Regions from separate parts of the Homo sapiens genome. Here region 2 is linked to region 1. The links are contacts of gene promoters, found by promoter capture Hi-C in blood cells and fetal thymus (Javierre and others, 2016). All regions are on one chromosome and are shown on one strand. Each heading gives the region's core, a stretch centred on a gene start or on the middle of the fragment in contact. The rest is flanking DNA. Distances are from core to core; before and after follow the strand shown.

Region 1 (5,960 bases), core at 3,160-5,659:
CAGGTTTTCCTGACTCCCCAGAAGGCTGAGGCAGCCCTCCCTCCTCCCTCCTCTCATCTTCCCATTGTCCCTTGAGCATGTCACTCTTTTGTCCCCACCCTGCATCTTGACTGTGAGTGTAAATAGTTCAAAAACCTTCTCCAATGGATGTTTATATCGCCAGTGCCTCAAATGGTACCTAGCACAAGTAAACACTCAATGGAAAAAAATCTGTGTAAGGATGGTTTCATTGATAATAAGAAGAACCATAGTGTAGGAATCAGGAGTTCTGGTGAATTAACCAGCTAAGTGGTCACGAATGGTTCACCTACCCTCTCTAGGTTTCTGTTTTCTTATCTGTAAATAGACTATATCTAATACCTGCCCCCAAATTCAATGATTCTATATGTTTAATACCTCCTTTAGAAGCCTCAAAATGCCTTATGACAAGCCAAGTCAACTTCAGATGTTAATTTTTTAATTCTCAAAGATTTGCTTATGAAAAGCAAATTCAAATGCCTTTGAAATTATCTTATTTGCAGGTCTATTGTTAAAAAAGAACTTCTAAAAACTTTCTAAATGACATGGAGACATTTAAATTAAGCTAATCTGAAACAATATTTTTTTCAGGCAAACTCCTCTTTCTCTTATTAAATGATACAAAGAAAGGTCCAAGTTGTAGCCCGAAACTTCATTAAGAAACTGTGAATTCTAATTCCAGCTTTCACTGATACAGAACTGGTCAACTCACTTTCTAAGTATCTCTACTTCTGTTGTTCCCAGCTGAAAAAAAAGTGATAAGAACTGAAAAAAAGTGATAAGTAGGAATTGCTGAAAAAAATCACTAAAAGCCTTCAGGTCTTTGAGCATGATGATAAAGGTGATATGAATCTTGGAAAAGCCAAGTTTCAATGGTTTCAGTGAGGTTTCTCACACCTTATAGGTCAGCTTTTTCTGCCTTTGTTCCATAGCTGAAGTTCCAGGTAAGACTGGAAGCCTGACAATTTAAGTGGATGTCCCAATGTAATATCCAAACAGTGTGTATTGGTTTTGGTGACAGAAGCACTGAATTATATACCTTATGTCATGAATATTCTTACAGGGCATTCACTTCTTTCCCTTTTCTAAACAGTGTGTTTTGCTAATCCAGAATAGGTTATTTAGATATGTACAGAATATATAACTTAAGTATAGAAAAGTACATATGTGCAAATTTGATTCCCCTCAATCCCTTCTTAGGAGCCAGGAAATCCATAAGCTTAAACACAAATATACTAACTCACATTTTGTATTTCTCAAATCCTTATATCCATTCTATGAATATATAAACTATATACTCATAAGATATTGAGCTGGAAGACATCTTATTGATCATTTGATCCTACTTTCTCATAATACAGATTATAAAAATCAAGGCTCAAAGAGGAAAGTAAATTAGATGAGGAGTGGGTAGGGTCTAACTTTTTTTCTAGCATCTTAAAAACAAAATATTCTGCATTTCCTGCATGTAGATAGACCTAACCCAGTGATGAGAAAACAGAGGCTACTAAATAAACTTGATTGAAAGGAAAGCTGACGGCCAAATGGAGCTTGGTAGCTATATCTGTATTTACAGAGCCATTCATGTAGGCAATTATTTTATAAGGCTAAAAAATTAAATCTAAGAAATAAAAGGGAAAATCACAATTATTTCCCAAAAACCTTTCTCTCACAATAAAAGAGGTCCAATTTAACTGGGTAAATGGTGAGCATTTCAGCTCTATTTCACCTCCAATACACATCACTGTAACATTATGTCTTATAAAATAGAGGTTTGACTTGCCTCATCACTACCAACACCACCACCACCACCACCACCCGATCCCTCAATCAAACTTCCAAACAGTATTGTAGATGAGTTTTAAATGGCTACTAGTCTATGTCTCTTTGTCAGCAGCTGCTCTACAATGTTCTCTCTCAATCTCTCTGTCTCTGTTTCTCTCTCTCTCTCAAACACACAGAAACACACACACACACACACACAAACACACACACACACACACTGCTGCTATCACTGCCACCAACATTATTTGGTAAACTATCAGGTTCTAGGGAAAACACACACAACCCATCTATGCTATCCTTCTCATAATGAAGTGTAAATAATAAATATAAGATTAAATGTAAGGACCCATTGTGCTGTCCCAGATCCTATAACAATATAAGAAATTACATTAGCTAATTAGAAATAAAAAAATTATAATTAACATCAAGTGAAGAACTTCAAATATCCTGAGCAAAAAAAAGAAATCTATTTTCAGAGTAGACAGGGCATGTTTCTTAAGCAAACAACTCAAATATACCACCTATGTCTTGCTTCCATCTCTGTGCCAGGACTATAGAAGCTAATTCTCCCCTAGAGATCACTCACCATGAGGTTTAGTGTCCTAGAAACCAGCACCCTGCTTTTCTTCCCACAGCTTTCCTTCTGTCCCAGAGTTGCTGGATGACTTGTTGGAAAGGATCCCCTCTTTTTCTCAACATCTCCTGGATATTGATAGTCCAATGTGACCCCAACCACCAGCAAGCTGTACAACTGTGGTTCACCTTTTGCTCTCTCCTGCTCAGAGCCGTTGTGCAATCAGTTAGCCTTGAATGGAGCCATGTGTCCTGTGTTTTATCATCCCATGGTGTAAGGAAATATGTAACACTGTGGTTGTTAGAAAAAGCACTCTCAGGGCTCCCAGACTGGTGAATGCACTCAGCTGTTCTATATTTGGTTACTCTCTTTGTTTTCTTCTCAAAAGAGCCTAATTCCGGTTGATGTCTTGGGCATCCGGTCGATGTCTTGGGCATCCTGCCATGGACACCTTACTCTTCCCCCACACCCTCTCCCCGAGTCGCCTACTTTAATTTCACCCAAAGAGTTCTGCGAGAAGACATAAGAGTGTGGTGTGATGAGGAGAGGATCAATGTGTTGTTGTGCTCACTGTTCTGCAGACCTGAGCATGACACTAGCTACACTTCTGGAATTTGGAGACACAAGCACTGTCTGTGGTACAGTGATCATAACCACACACACTCTTACCAGCCTCCATGCACTGAAAACCCTATTTCCTGTAGGCAGAAACAAGCCCAGGCATTTGCCAAGACTGCTCATCTCATTCTGGTTTCATTGGAGGTGCTTAATCTCAGACAAGACCATCAGAAATCAGTTTGTATTACCTGAACTTTATCAGGGAGAAACATTTCTAACCCAAAGCAACCACCTAGAAAACAAGATTATCAGACTAGCTCAACAAAGGAACACGAAGAGAGTATAGATTTATTTTTCTCCAGTGGCATCTTCTGCAGTGAAGAACATCCTTAAATACCTAATAATGTTTGTATATCTGAACTACTGAATAAGAAAAAATAATGCAAAAGAGAGAAGTGTGGAACAAGAATAAAGTGAAAGAAAAATGGAAATATTTTAACTATATGGGGAAAATACTAGAAGGATAATCTCCTACTACATGATGTATTTAATAAGGTAGGGAAAAGGTGAAATGATGTCTTTAAATTATGACTGGAAGAGATAGATTGTGAGAAACAATATCTGATTAAATCATTGGGGTGAATGAGTGAGCACATAGGCACACACACATGCACGCACACATTGCTCCGCTATTAATATTGATACCTTCAGCATTCTTTACAAAGAAAATCACCTTGCAGGTCTATAGGGTATATGAATATTATGGGAAAGTGGAACTGGTCTCTTTCCTATTTCCTTTTAATATTAATTGCCTGATCAAACACATTACTATCACAATGGGTAGACCAGGTATATCAGTGACTCAAAGCTTCAAAGTGACAGCTTATAAAGGGATACAAGGAATCTTGCATTGCAAAGAAAAAGAAAAAGATCTAGAAGCTGTGCCTCTGCCCTACCTCCACTCTGCCCTACCACTGCCACTGCTGAAAAGAAGGAAGGAAAGGAGAGACAGAAGGGCGTTTAACCACACTTTACGATTGCTGTGGGGAGAGGGAAAAAAAACTCAACACTTTTGGCATAAGATTATTTCCAAGCGACTGTTTGCAGCTGTTGCAGCTGCCATCAGCATGAGCTGGTGGGAAAACAGCGCCCAGTGGTGCATCTTACCTGAAGAGCAGAGAAGTGCAGGCAGATGTAGGTGAAGCACAGGAGCAGCCCCAGTCCCTGAATTACAGAGGCCACCAGCAATAGCTTGTTCCTCTCGAATCTTGGCCTGGCTGCATTTCCCACATTCTCTTCCAGGGGTTGGACCCTTTCCATCTTCACAATCTGGGTAGAGGGAAGATGAAGATATGGAAAAGGGGAACGTGCGATAAAACTGAAGTTTTCCCCAGAAAGAAGGAGGTAAAGACAAAACAAAGCCTATCAATCAGAAAATAGGCAAAGGTCCCAGGGCCAGAGATAAAAGGCGATTGAAAGAGCAAAGCGGACTCTCTCAGTTTTAACGCTGCAACTTTTGCAGGCAGGCGGGGGAACTTCTTTGTGACTAATCTGAATTTCCCCTTTACTTTCTTTCTTTTTTTTTTTCCTCTGGGCTAACAGGGAGTTGTTTTTGTGACATTCCAGTTCTGATTTGAGTGACTGTGAAATGACAGTCATAAAAGTATGCTATTTTCTTAACTTATTGCACCAGTAACAAATTGTGGGTCACTTGGTAAAGATAAAAATCATCATCCGTTAATGTAGCAGCTCATATATCCCTTCCCCAAGGTGTCTTAAATCATAGAAAAGATTTAGGGGAAATGCTGGCCCAAGGTTCTTATCTGCACTTTACTATGTAACTAAACATTGAACCCCTCTCACAGATTCAGAAAGAAAGCACACACAGATCATTCTTGAATGAAAAAGACAAAACAAGAAAATAGGACACTGGGTCATGCAGAAGTAAAGGAGAGATCCTTGGTTGTAGTCTATTGCATAAAAATAAACTACCTTTTGGAAGCATTTACTATGTGTCAGACACTGTGTTAGATGGACTTGCAATCTTTCTCTCATTTAACCCTTTGAGGCAAATTCAATAAACAATTATATGATTAATTTTCTGCATACCAGAAAAGAAGCAGAAGGGTATCCTTGTCTCCTTTCCTTCCACTTCACATTTTTCCCGTACATAATTTTTCCATGAATGAACAAATGAATAGATGTAAATAAGCTTTGAAGATTATTTCTTTCTTTGAGGTCGTGGCTGGCCTCAGAACTTGGAAAGTAAGAGTATTCTATCAATAGACACCAGGTACCCTTTACCACTAAAATAAACAATGAAATGAAATAAATGATAAAATTACTTATAATGTAAAGTTCAAATGGGCAAATATTTACTGAGTACATCACATGAGCCTGGCACTGTACTGGACAACATAAGGATGCTGGGGAAAAGCTGTTTAAGACGGAATTGTCTCTCTTTGTGGCCAAGTATGTCTCTCTCAGCTCCCCATGAGGCACCCAGCAGATATGTAAAGAAAGGAGGGAGAAATATTTTGGATATTGACAGTATGAGTTGTTATACCACTTCACAGAAAAAATGGAAATGAGGCATACTTAAAAGAGAAAGTTTGTGGGAAATGTAAAGTACATTTATGACTACAGTATTAATCAATTAAAATATGAATTAATACCTTCACTACAATAATTATGCCTTGCATTAGGAGAACATACTGGTGTTGAGAAATTTAAGTTTTATCTGAAAGATAAGGTAACTAAGGCACAATATCATAGACTCCAAGCCAAAACTAGAAATCAAATTGTATCCAAACATATTTGTCATAGTTATTCCCTTGAACAAAGCTTGTGTTACATACAGGGTGTGGAGAAAAAAGCTGAAGGAAAAATCAGTGTGTAAAGCCCAATTCTTGTGTAATAGTTCTTCATAAAAGAGTATTAAAATCAGTAACTATTTACTCGTCAATTTTCAAAAAATGACTAAGAGTCACAGCAAAAAAAAAAAAAGCCATAAATACTATTGGAA
Region 2 (6,423 bases), core at 2,841-5,340, 210 kb after region 1:
GGACTCAAGCGATCCACCCGCCTCGGCCTCCCAAAGTGCTGGGATTACAGTTGTGAGCCATTGTGGCCGGCCACAAATGTTATTTTTAAAGCACACACACATTCCTGGTGGAAGGTAAGTATCCTCAGCACCCATTTCCTGAAACGTCTTTTAATCATCACAATATGGAGATTGTATTATTATCTCTATTTTAAAGACAGGGCAGTATTTTCCTGGGGCAGTATTTCCCAAATTGTGTCCCACGGAATGCTAATAACAGTACTAAGAGGTAAGTGGTGCTCACTTTTGAAAATGCTCCTATAGCCAAATATTTTTGAGAAATAATGCAGAGGAATGGTGCATTTGTGAGCATAGACCCAGGAGTCAGAGACACCTCGGTTTGGGGCCGAGCCCCACTGATTATCAGCTTTGCGGGTGCAGCAATAATAATCCTAGCTTCCTTATCTGGGATGTGGGAATAATGAAATACCCGCTTCATAAGGTTCGTGTGAGGGTTGATGTTATGAGGTAACAAATGTAAAGCTCTTAGCACATAGCTGGTGCAAAAAAAGTCTTCAATAAACAAGAACTCTTATTGGCATTGTAGCAGGTTAAATATTGTTAACATCTTACAGCTAGACCTATAATTTTTTTAGGGAGAGATCAATTTTGTTTAGGAAAACATCTTAATAAACCACGTGGAAGCGTGGCCAGCAATGAGACTCTGAAGTTACAAGCCATCAATAACCAAGACCAAAACCTAGAAAACCAAGTTTGAAAAAGCCAGAGTCCCATAGAGGGTGAGTACTGATTTCTCTCATTGCCTGACATTATAACAAAGAGGTTCAGGGCACAAAGATGAGATCTCACCTCCGTCTTCACCTCCCTCTTTTTAGTACTACTCCATCCTTTACAGATTCACCTACACACACTCACACATGCACACACACCACTCCCTTTTCAGGAAGAAAGCTACAGGCTCCAGTTAATTAGAAATTCTACTATTTCAGCTTTATTACTTCCTCTTTACTCTCTGAACTTTAAAGGAACACATTTCTGTAAAGTTTAAATTATTTCAATGAGGTGTATTACCTTTTTAACTGGGGGTGGGAGGGAAGCACTTTTTTTTTCTTTTTTTTTTTTTTAATGTTGAAGACTCCACTCAGTCATTTGAGCTCCAGGAAGCCTTCCCTGGCCACCCATAAGTTAAGAGAAGAGCCCCTCTTCTGAGCTCCCAGAGCACCCACTTCATACCTATGCTATAGAACACACCGCCAAGGACGGAAATTATCCAAAGGTTTGTGTCCATTGATTGCCATGCCAGGCATCCAGCTCTGCTGAAGCACGCAGGGGCCCTGACTTCCTCATTAGGTATTCTCAACACCTCCACCAGCAGCTGGTAGGCAGCAGAGCTATTGTTACTGAGCTGCCCACGGCACCAATGGATCTATGAATGAACCTGAACGTCTTCCCTGGAGAAAAGCACTTGCTTGTCAAGGGAGGAACAGGGGTCTGAAATGCTAACCCCTGCCCTATAGTATGGGTGTGCATACGGTGCACCTTCCAAAGCCCAGAGTGGCATTCTTATTACATCCCGGAAACCCCCTGGTCAGGGGCTTTTGGGGTGACATCCAATATGTAAATACCAGGGTCGGGTCCTGCTGAGTGGCATAACAGTGCCATATGTGAAAGTTCCACCAGCAGCAGAGGGCTCTTTCATTAGTCATTTCACTGCACACAGCTGTAAGGAATCTGGCGAAGCTTGATTTGGCTGGGAGGAGTGCATTTTCCACTTGTAGGCGTCTTGAAAACTTTCATACTAAAAAAAAAAAAAAAATTAACAACAAGAAAATCATCATAGTCCAAAATGAGAAGCCAGAAATTGAAGGTGGAGAGCCAGGGTAGCAAACATAATGGAGGGACTCCAAGACCGGGCTTCCACCAGGACCCTACACTGACTCACAGATGTGTAATGGTCATGGCGAGCCTTACATGTAAACAGAGATCCCAACATGTCCCAGAGGTAGTGGCTGTGGAAGCCTGGGCAGATGCCAGGCAGTATTCTAAGGTTAAGCATTGCTATGGTTTGAATGTGACCCCCAAATTTCATGTGCTGGAAACTTAATTCCCAAATTCACATATCGATGACATTTGGAGGTAGGGCCTTTGAGAGGTAATTAAGATTAAATAAGGCCATGAGTGTGTGGCCCCCACGGTGGGGCTGGTGGCTTTATAAGAAGAGTTAGAGTAACCTGGCCGGGTGCTGTGGCTCACGCCTGTAATCCCAGCACTTTGGGAGGCCAAGGCGGGCAGATCACGAGGTCAGGAGATCGAGACCATCCTGGCTAACACGGTGAAACCCCATCTCTACCAAAAAAATACAAAAAAATTAGCCGGGTGTGGTGGCGGGCACCTGTAGTCCCAGCTACTTGGGAGGCTGAGGCAGGAGAGTGGCCTGAACCTGGGAGGCGGAGCTTGCAGGGAGCTGAGATCACACCACTGCACTCCAGCCTGGGTGACAGAGCAAGACTCCGTCTCAGAAAAAAAAAAAAAAAAGAAGAGTTAGAGTAACCCAAGCGGACAAGCCTGCTCTTGCCCACTTGCCATGTGATGCCCTCTGCCACGTGAGGATGCAGCAAGAAGGCCTTCACCAAATGCCAGCACCATGTGCTTGGACTTCCCAGCCTCCAGAACTATAAGCAATAAATTTCTTGTCTTTATAAATGATCCAGTCTGTAGAATTCTGTTACAGCAATGGACTAAGACAGGCATGATTTGGGGTACAGAGAAGGAAAACTGAGAGGTCACAGAAGAGAGAGGAGGGTGGAAGCTGGGGGAGAGGCACTGATGGAACCAGCTTCCACCCTTCCCTGCAGGGCTTGGAAAGACCCATGAGGACACAAGGGAGAATAAAAGGAAGCAGCCCTGATTGCCATGGCTGGGTCAGGGTCAGGAGGCTAGGACTGCTTTATGTCCCTGCTATAATGGACTTATGGGTTTTTTAAGATTTTTTAAAATAGATTAACTATAGCTCCTAGAGCTGACTCTACTGATAACTTTACCCTGGACTCCCTCCCTGATTTTGACCTTAGTTTGTGTGGCGGGGGGGGGGATGAGAGGCTGCGGTCCAAATGGAATGCAGTTTGCCTGTCCTCTATCAGCATCAATGCATCACCTTTCCCCCGATTTTTACCTCATGATATATTTATGCATTTAACGCATGTTTATTGAGTGAGCTGCATGCAGCAAAATGCACGTAAAAAGCAATTTTTTTTCTTTTTTCTTTGTCCTTTCAACTCCTCTCTCTGGATTTGCCTTGTCCCTGCACTTGAGATGAAAGCTAACCAATACCACGGATTTTCTAGCCACTCTGAGCCATTAAATAAAGAGGCTCTTTAAAACAAACAAACAAAAAAAAAAGTAAAAAACAGTCTACTCAACCTGAAGCTTCTCCCCTCTCAGACTCCTTCACTTCAGGTTTGGAAACTCGGTACCAAGGAGGAAGGCATGGACTTCACCATTTTCTCTCCTCCACCTCTCGTAGCCAGCTGCTAATTCTCAAGCCTCAAGCTGTGAGAGATTGAGAACTGAGGGAAAGGACACAGTACTTGACGGCTCTTACTGTCATGACGCGGCCTTGGTGCCCTCTGGGTTTAGCATGTTTTCCAACGCTTTCCTTTCCAGCCTCACTTAGGCACATTGCAGTTAAAGAATATGGCCACCAGGTGGCAGTAAAGGCCTTTTTTTTTCCTGGCCAGTAGACCCTACCCTCCGGTTTTATATGGCTACATAATTTCTTTAAGATGATGTCAAATATGCTTTCCCTACATTTCAAAAGAAAAGAAAGTAAACACTTAAAACCACAAACTGGTCAACTTAGCAAAAACTAAATATAATTTAAAGATGATGCCCTAGGGAATAAACGTGTAAAGAAAACCTCCCAAGTTGTTAATTATGTAATTACATAACTAATTTACTAAGTCTTTCTCTTCCTCAAATTATTACTGTGTAAGTCTAAATCTTATTCCCAGATCTTGATCATAATTTACCTTCCCTTAATTTAGAGTCAGAAACTTTTCCCCAAAGGCTCCTGTATGGCCAATTGTCATTTAAAGACCTTTATTAATAACAACTATTATACTAATAATATCCATTTGTTTTTTACTATGCACCAGTTACAGTTATGTTACAGTCACTACTTATAGTTATGTGTTGACTACACACAGACTACACACTGCGATAAAACCTAACTGTGGTATTATTTTATCCTCACACCATCCCTACATGTCACCACCACTGCCCCTGCCCGCATTTAGGGTTGCCAGAAAAAATATAGGCCGCACAGTTAAATTTGAATTTCAGATAAACAACAAATAATGTTTTAGCATATGTCCCACGCACCATTAGGGACATAGTTATTGCATGGGACATAAATATTTTATGGGACATATTTACACTAAAAAATAATTATTTATCTGAAATTCAGCTTTAACTGGACATCCTAGATTCTTATTTGATAAATTTGGCAACCTGACCCCCATTTTATGGATAAGGAAACTGAACCTCCAGGAAGGTAAGCAATGTAATGAAGGCTAAGAGCTGGTAAGCAGCACTGTGGAGCTGTGAACCCCAGACCCTCCGAACCGGGTTCCCTCCCTACCATACTGCCCCTCCTTGTTGTCTAGGGAATTATTCTCATCTGCCAGCTGCTGGTAAAATAATCTGCCATCCTCAAGTAAAATAATCCTTGTCACTGTTCTCAACTAAATAGAAGAAAAGCTTTTCTTCCCAGCCAAGAAAGAGTCACTGAAAGACAAATTCTCATGACTGATTTTCCCGTATCTGTCTTCCTTGCCAATTTATCGTTTCTGGAAAAAAAAAAATGAAAATCCCCCTTATTTTTTTCCCCACTGATATTCATATTTTTGTAACTATTTCAAGGCTACCTCTAGTAAACTGAAATGTAAATACAACAGTCCATCCCAATTTGTTCTTCTGGCTTAATTACCTGAAACATAATACAGTAATTTAGAACTACGCATAAAGAAAAAAACAAAACAAAATAAAACTGTAATGTCATTGCACTATGAGGATATCAAAACTTTTTGTTGTTGGTTTTTTCCCAGCCATATCTTCCAGTATTTGAGTGATGACAGACCTAGTCAACTTGTATTCCTCTGCAGGATTTACTGTCCTGCACATAATAGGAAAATAAAGCCATGTTACAGTCCCACAGCTATACGAGAACACCTCTCCCCCACAATGTCAAGGTTAGTCCCTAGCAGAAAAAAAAGCGGCAACAAAGGAACGTTTAAAGGAGTTTAAACATGCAAAGTGCTTAGAACAGTGCCAGCCAAATAGTAAGTGCTCAGTAGATGTGAGCTAGTGTTATTATTAACACCTAGAGACATTACCAATGGCCATTACCAATGGGTCTAGAGACCCAGAAATGGCTTTGCATTAATAACTAACAAGCCATAAACAATGCAGAATGAGAGAGAAGGAATGGTGGTGCCCAGAGTGAAAAAAAAAAAAAAAAAAAGGACTGGGAGAGAATGGAGGAAGGCCATTCATTCATTCAACAACCATGTCATGAGTGAGTGCTATGTGCCAGCCTTAAAGGGATGGAGAGCCCAGTGAGAGAGGCAGGTCTTTGTAGTATGGTGTGATAACTGTGCACTGGAGAGAGCAATACCCAGTACGGCATGGGAGTACAGAAAAGGGGAACCTTGGCCAGTCTAGGAGGTCAAAATGAGGTCAGGGAAACTTCACAGAGTGAGACCTCAGCTGACTCTTACTGACCCAGTAACTGCTGACCAGGCTGAGGCTGAGAAGATGGCGCATTCCAAGCAGTGGAGGCAACAGCAAGCAAAGGTGCAGACTTAAAACAACAAAGTGTGTGCAGAGGAGGGGGAGACAATTCAGTTCCCTTCTCTTTGGAAAACCAGTCAATTACCAAGCAATGTAAAGTTACTGGAATGACGGAACACCCATATGTGGGCCCCTGCACAAGGAAGTACAAATGCAAGACTTCTTCCATCTTCAACCAACAGGAGTAAGACGGTGGACACCACCAGATGAGAGAGTTGATGTCGTGGAGAAAGGAGGTTTGTCAGCTTCATGTTAACCACTGAAGAGATGTTACATGTTACATACATATATATATGTACATTTTTTTTTTTTTAGACAGAGTCTCGCTCTGTTGCCCACACTGGAGTGCAGCGGTGAGATCTCGGCTTACTGCAACCTCCGCCTCCCAGGTTCAAGCGATTCTCCTGCCTCAGCCTCCTTACATGTTATATCTTAATTAAGTTATTAATATCACTTGCAAATAAATTCATTCTCACCAATACATGGGGCTTTCACATTGATCCTCATAAGCACCCTCCCTAAATCTAAAATAATAGATTTTATTACTCCCACCTTACATATGAGAAAATGGAT

Evidence for each region. The method cuts DNA at HindIII sites, captures the fragments that hold promoters and counts their contacts. A CHiCAGO score of 5 or more calls a contact.
Region 2: a fragment that was not itself captured here is called in contact with the fragment with the promoter of TNFSF4 in region 1 in 1 of 17 cell types (megakaryocytes); the score reaches 6.0 in megakaryocytes.

The regions. Positions count from the first base shown.
Region 1 is chr1:173,202,922-173,208,881 of GRCh38, forward strand. TNFSF4 (TNF superfamily member 4) reads right to left here and starts at 4,410. Exons shown (of 3, transcript NM_003326.5): 1 at 4,103-4,410. The coding sequence starts at 4,255. RefSeq lists an enhancer at 4,342-4,401. The HindIII fragment of the contact is 1,344 bases long and covers 3,802-5,145 here.
Region 2 is chr1:173,416,825-173,423,247 of GRCh38, forward strand. PRDX6-AS1 (PRDX6 antisense RNA 1) reads right to left here. Exons shown (of 2, transcript NR_125960.1): 2 at 965-1,798. The region is part of intron 2 of LOC100506023 (a long non-coding RNA gene); the gene reads right to left. It also overlaps a transcript of TNFSF4 not described here. Among named protein-coding and RNA genes, the nearest start is that of PRDX6-AS1, 41 kb to the right of the region's middle. RefSeq lists enhancers at 1,358-1,697, 3,456-3,555. The HindIII fragment of the contact is 1,332 bases long and covers 3,425-4,756 here.